2 separate regions of the Homo sapiens genome follow, and region 1 is linked to region 2. Evidence: promoter capture Hi-C in human tissues and cell types (Jung and others, 2019). All regions are on one chromosome and are shown on one strand. Each heading gives the region's core, a stretch centred on a gene start or on the middle of the fragment in contact. The rest is flanking DNA. Distances are from core to core; before and after follow the strand shown.

Region 1 (2,940 bases), core at 237-2,736, 1.1 Mb before region 2:
AAGACCTAATCCTGTTTTCCTTGGCCCCAGTTAGATGGGGAGTTTCCAGGTTCAGAGAAACGTTCAGGTCATTTTTCATTAAATAGATGAAATCACTCCTTCCCTCACATGGGCACACCTCCCCATCCCCACTCCCACACCCCAGATGATTGGAGAAGTGTCTCTAAAGAGTCAGTCACCTTCACCCTCTCAGGCTAGTTTTACTACTGGGCCTGTGTCTCTGGCAGTCTTAACCAGAGTCCAACCTCTCTGGCATTACCTCACATTGTCTGTTTCTGCTTATTGGATTCCTGGCTGACATCCCACACCAGGAACATGGCAACCAGGAAAATGGTAGTTATCAAATCGAGGCAACATTAGTACTCGGCCTCCTTTGCAAATTCCTTCGACAAACATTGATTGAGGGCCTGTGATCTGCGGGGGACTGTGCAAATCCTTCCCTACCCCTTCAGACATCAAATTCTGTTCCTTGTTTGTGACATAGCCTTCCATGCGCTGAGGCCCTCCCTTCTTACAAAATCTCTATTTTTTTTTTCTCTTGCCAACACTCACAAAGTCCTTTTTAAAAGTCTCTGTGGTGTTCACTAATTCTTGCCTACCTTATTCGTTCTAATCCCTTTGTCTATTAAAATCAACACACACCATTCCACTGCGACTACCCCCTTCCCTAGCAAATCTGTATGTTTGCTAGACTGTTCTCCCTTCCAGAAATATGCTCTTTTTCCCAGTATGTGGCCTTTGCCAGGACTTCTTGAAGCCAAAATATTCTGTTCGGACATAAACTTGTGAAGGGAACTGAAGCAAGTTGTTTTGCTTTCCCGTGCCTCACTTTCCCCTTTTGCTGAGTATGTTTATAATTCCTCCTACATAGAGCAGGGTTGTTAATAGAGGAGATTTTAGCCAGAGCAATCTGGGAGTTGACTGCATTGGAGTCTCCTGGTCTGTACAGCAGTCCCCCTGCATTAGAATTCCTGGGAGTAATAGCCAGGAAAAAGAGTTTCATAAGCTCCCCAAGTGGCTCTGATACACAGTAAAATGCAAGAGACACAGGAGTGCTGGGAGAGAATTCCTCAGAATCCCGCTCACCCCCATATCTATCAGATCTAGTCAAAGCCCAATATCACCAGATTATAAAATATTTTGGAGGAATTTTTAGTCTAACACCAGAAGCACAGAGCTTATCACCCTGGCAACAGCAACACATTGACTGGAAACCTAGGAGAGTCCTCCACACCGGAAAGAGTTTGTATGTAGATCCAGGGTTATTTGTTTGTTTGCACTTAAAATAAAACCTTTTCTTTTCTAACCATTTTAACAAAACTGAAATTTTTAGCAAAAGGGAATAAAAATAAACTCATTTAAGAATCGGTCTTTTGCTCTATTATTAAATTAGAGCCATGGGGATTCACTGGAGCTGTTTGACTTTCCCACTTCAGCTCCATCCCATCCCTTTCCTTCCCTGATTTCCAAAATGAACGTTTGTGAGGCAGCATGGTGGCACGTTTATATTAAAGTAATCGATGAACTATCACTACAGCCAGAGATGGATTTACTATGAAGCAAACAAAGCTCAAGCTTCAGCACCTCTCAAAAGCACAGGCTCCTTTTAAGGCTCTGGACTTATTCTTGAATTTTTAAAATTTAAATTCTTTTTCTTAAAGAACTTCGCCTCAAAAAAAAAAAAAAAAAAACCATAAACTTCATGCCACACAAAAGCTGGATCTGCCCCTGATCACACCTATTGGCCAGTAAACTGAAGCATTAGAGGCTGCCATAGAAGATAGCAGAATACATTTCTTTCTGTTCTCAACAGTGCCTGAAACATAGTAGGTGCTAAACAAATATCTACCTTCCATCGTATCCATGAACGTGACGGTATTGCCAAAGAACACACTGGAATCTCTGCAATAACACTCTACCACTTGTCCTTACACAGTTTCTCATCCCTCTGAGAGTCAAATGAATTTTTGCTTCTCAAATGACATTCACTTACGGGCATAAGACAGGTTTCTTGCACACAAGAAATGCAATGACCTGCCCTCCTATTCTTTCCCTTTCCTCTTCCTGCTCATTCCTTTTTTTCTTTTCTTTGCCATCTCTCCTCTGCATTTTCTCAGTCTCCCCTTGACTCTGACAGCTGAAAACTTTGCTGGGCCCTGATTGAGCTTTTCCTCTTTTATCAAGCACAGACTAGAACTATTTTACTCCGAATTTCTGGAGAATCGTTCTTTTTTGACCAGATACAACATGGGCCAGGTAATCTCAGAAAACAACCAGGCTAAATTTGGGGCAATAGTTCCTTGAAGCTATTGTTAGACATGTCCCTTGAGCATTCAGGATTTTATATGGAGGTTCATCTGATCACCATTATTTCCCACTGTCATATTCCACTCTAGAATTATTCCCACTCCTCATTCTTGCCATAAATATTTGATTAGGACGCAACCATGAACAAGAAAGACTGCCTCATGGAGCTTACATTTTCATGAAGAGGAGGCGGGCGCAAATAAATAGTACTTCCTGGTCTTTCCTTGTTTGCATGCCATAGGGGAAAAAATGCAACTCATTAGAGCCAACTGGGAGAACAGGCACAGGGAAGGAGGAGTTGATGGATTTGGAAATGGTTTTGGTGAGAACATGCTGAGTTCATTTTTCCTCTCCTGATCTTCATCTCTTTTTCAGTGATATAAAATTGACTCCATTTACATAAAGGGAACCCACTCTATTTTTACCTTAGCCACTCCCTCCTGCCCCTCTGCCCCACCCCCCAGTAACCCTCTATTAGTCTCTCTACCTCTTAATGAACCATGGATTCATGGATCTCACAATCCTCTTTATAGCAGAGATCCCAAGAGAAAAATCCAGTCCCTAGTATCCAAAGGGCCTTTTGATCTCTACAGATTTGGTTAATGTACCCTGCAGATATGAGGAAGGAATCAG
Region 2 (3,249 bases), core at 440-2,939:
GGGATCCACACGCCTTGGGCTCCCAAAGTGCTGGGATTACAGCCTGCTTCTTAATGTCACTAACTCTTCACCCAAGTCCTAGGCGCTTGTGCCTGCTGTGCCAGTCCCAGGCCGCAGGCTGGCACCGTAGCTATAAAGGGCGCCAGAAAAAAAGATTTTGCTAGATAGCGATGAATTCCCCAATCACAGAAAGGAGATACTGCGGATGCTTATCAGCCGAATACCAGTAAGTGTCCCTTGCAGAATGGGATTAGAGACTGCAAACTGCAGGCCTGCCAACAGAGGGTGCTCTGTGGGAAATTATGTGAAAACGTAGAAAAGAGCGCGAGCCAGTAATTTAAAAATCGACGTCCAAATACTCACTGGGTCACCTATCAGCTATGTAATTTGGGCAGGTAAATAAGCTTTTGTTTCTTTTTTTTTTTTCCTCATAAATGGACTAGGAATATTACTCCTACCTACCTGGCATGGCCGATGTGCGAGAAAATGAGATAATCTCGTGGACAGGCTCTGAAAACTGCACTTTTACTGAGTAAAAAACCCTTTGCCTCTCCGGGCCCCCGTTTCCCCATCTGTAAAATGAGTCTGTAAAGTGAGAATGATACTCCCTACGCCGCAAGGCTCTTGCGGGTTAAACTGGAATATTATAAATGCACCATTTATTTGCAGATTGAAATTCTGTGCGTCCGGAGGTGGCGGGTGGGAGAGGGAATGAGCAGGGATGCAGGGTAGGCCCTGAGTTGCTGGGGGCTCAGCATGGCCGCTGCGCACATTGCATCATTTTGTCGACACTGGTGTGGGTGAAATCTTCCAAAAGAAATTAAAACAGAAAAAAAAAAAAAGAAGGGTCTGGGACTTAGCAGAAACAAGCCACAATCTCCAGATTCTACTATTCCTGGGCCACGTGAGGAGCGCCCACCCGTCTGGCGCTGCGTTCCCCGGGGCGTCCCAGCCTCTCCCGCCCAGCCCGCCGCCCTCCTCCCCCATGGCCACCAAGGTCAGGCTCTCGCAGGGAAAACGTCTTCAGGGGCTAAACATCGGTTTTAAACGAAATGGAAAACCTCCAACACGAATCAACAGCAGAGGAAAAGCAGACGCCAAACAAGCGCTCAGAACCCCTTCAGGGGCGGCGTGGTAGCTCTTCCCGGGGAACAGCGAGGGGCGCGGATGTCCCTCTTCCTAAAACTGCACGCGGGGTGCGATCCGAGACCCAGCGGCGGCGAGCGCGCCCGAGTCTGCTCGCGGGCGCCAGGCGCGCGGAGAGCGGCGGCTGCGCCTGCGCCAACGCCGTCAGTCCGCGGGGCCCGATCCCGACACCTAACTCCACAGAGAAGCTCTGCTCCTAAGGGAAAGGGAAGACTTCAGCCACAGTTTCGCAGCCAACCTGGCGACCTCACCTCTCTGGCGACCTCACTTCCCAGCCGGCTCCGTTTAAGAAAACCCCGCGCAGGACCGCGCCCGCCCCCGCGCCCGCGCCCGCCCCCGCCCCCTCGCGCCCGCCCCCTCGCGCCCGCCCCCTCGCGCCCGCCCCCTCGCGCCCGCCCCCTCGCGCCCGCCCCCTCGCGCCCGCCCCCTCGCGCCCGCCCCCTCGGGTAACAAACATGGCCCCCGGCGGGGCGGAAGCGCTTCCGCCCCCAACGAAGATGGCGGAGGGGGCGGGACTAAAAGGGCGTAGGTAGATCGCCGGGGGCTGACGAGTGCACCATGGCCACCGCGGCAACCTCACCCGCGCTGAAGCGGCTGGATCTGCGCGACCCTGCGGCTCTTTTCGAGACGCATGGAGCGGAGGAGATCCGCGGGCTGGAGCGCCAGGTTCGGGCCGAGATCGAGCACAAGAAGGAGGAGCTGCGGCAGATGGTGGGCGAACGGTACCGCGACCTGATCGAGGCGGCCGACACCATCGGCCAGATGCGCCGCTGCGCCGTGGGGCTAGTGGACGCCGTGAAGGCCACCGACCAGTACTGCGCCCGCCTCCGCCAGGCCGGCTCGGCCGCGCCCCGGCCACCGCGGGCCCAGCAGGTCAGTCCCCGTGCCCCCACCCTGCGACCCGCAGGCGGGTCCCGGAGCCCCTGGCCTTGCAGGTCAACCCCGCCCCCCTCTGTCAGTCCCAGACCCCGCGAGTCCTCACCTTCCTTAGCCAGGAGCCTATCCGCCCCTCACCCTTTGGGCCCCCCTCAGAGGACAGTGCCAGCCTTCCTTGCACATATGCGGCTGCTGATCCGTTCTGGAAATGCCATTCAACAGTTTCTTCAGGCGCTTTCCCCCGACTTCCGGGCCTTGATTCCTACACCTCACTGGGCTCCTTTCAATTTTAGCGGAAAACGCCAGGAGTTTCTGTCTTGACAGTTCAACGCTCACCTATATAACATGTCCTGACATTGTTTTTCCTCAGGTTTCTCCCCTATGTTGACACCTGCACTCCAAGTCATTTCTTCCTCATCCCAACCTTCCCCTTATCTCCCCAAGAATAACTTCCACAACCCCAAATAGCTGTTCTACCCTTTGGGAGTTGTTGAGGGTACCAGCTATCAAGCCCTTAACTTTATGTATGTATGTGACAGGGTCTCCCAAAGTGCTGGGATTACAGTCATGAGCCACCACAGCCGGCCAAGCCCTTACCTTTTAATAGCTGAACATTTTCATTTTCAGAACTAAGGCTTTTTTCATTCAGGTTCTCCTTATCCCGTGTTCTTCCCCCCAAACGCTATTGATTAGACACAATGAGGAAGGATGGGAGGTAAACAAACACATCCTCATATTGGAGCTGCAGCTTGCGTTCCTAAAGAATTTTTATTGGCCGGGTGCGGTGGCTCACGCCTGTAATCCCAGCACTTTGGGAGGCCGAGGCGGGTGGATCACGAGGTCAGGAGATCCAGACCATCCTGGCTAACACGGTGAAACCCCGTCTCTACTAAAAATACACAAAATTAGCCAGGCGTGGTGGCCGGCGCCTGTAGTCCCAGCTACCTGGGAGGCTGAGGCAGGAGAATGGCATGAACCCGGGAGGCGGAGCTTGCAGTGAGCCGAGATCGCGCCACTGCACTCCAGCCTGGGCCACAGAGCGAGACTCTGTCTCAAAAAAAAAAAAAAAAAGAATTTTTATTTCTTTATTTTTTGAGACAGGATCTCGCTCTGTCACCCAGGCTGGAGTGCAGTGGCGCGATCTCGGCTCACTGCAACCTCCGCCTCCCGGGTTCAAGCGATTCTCCTGCCTCAGCCACCCGCGTAGCTGGGATTACAGGCACCTGC

The links. Contacts are between HindIII fragments. The study calls those that stand out against the background at their distance.
Region 1: a contact is called between a fragment that was not itself captured here and the fragment with the promoter of COG1 in region 2, in 1 of the 25 tissues and cell types used here (neural progenitor cells).

The regions. Positions count from the first base shown.
Region 1 is chr17:72,127,047-72,129,986 of GRCh38, forward strand. No RefSeq gene overlaps it. Among named protein-coding and RNA genes, the nearest start is that of SOX9, 7.5 kb to the left of the region's middle. The HindIII fragment of the contact is 5,610 bases long and covers 1-2,940 here.
Region 2 is chr17:73,191,366-73,194,614 of GRCh38, forward strand. COG1 (component of oligomeric golgi complex 1) reads left to right here and starts at 1,690. Exons shown (of 14, transcript NM_018714.3): 1 at 1,690-2,019. The coding sequence starts at 1,705. RefSeq lists enhancers at 917-1,676, 962-1,011, 1,642-1,921 and a silencer at 1,972-2,181. The HindIII fragment of the contact is 14,916 bases long and covers 1-3,249 here.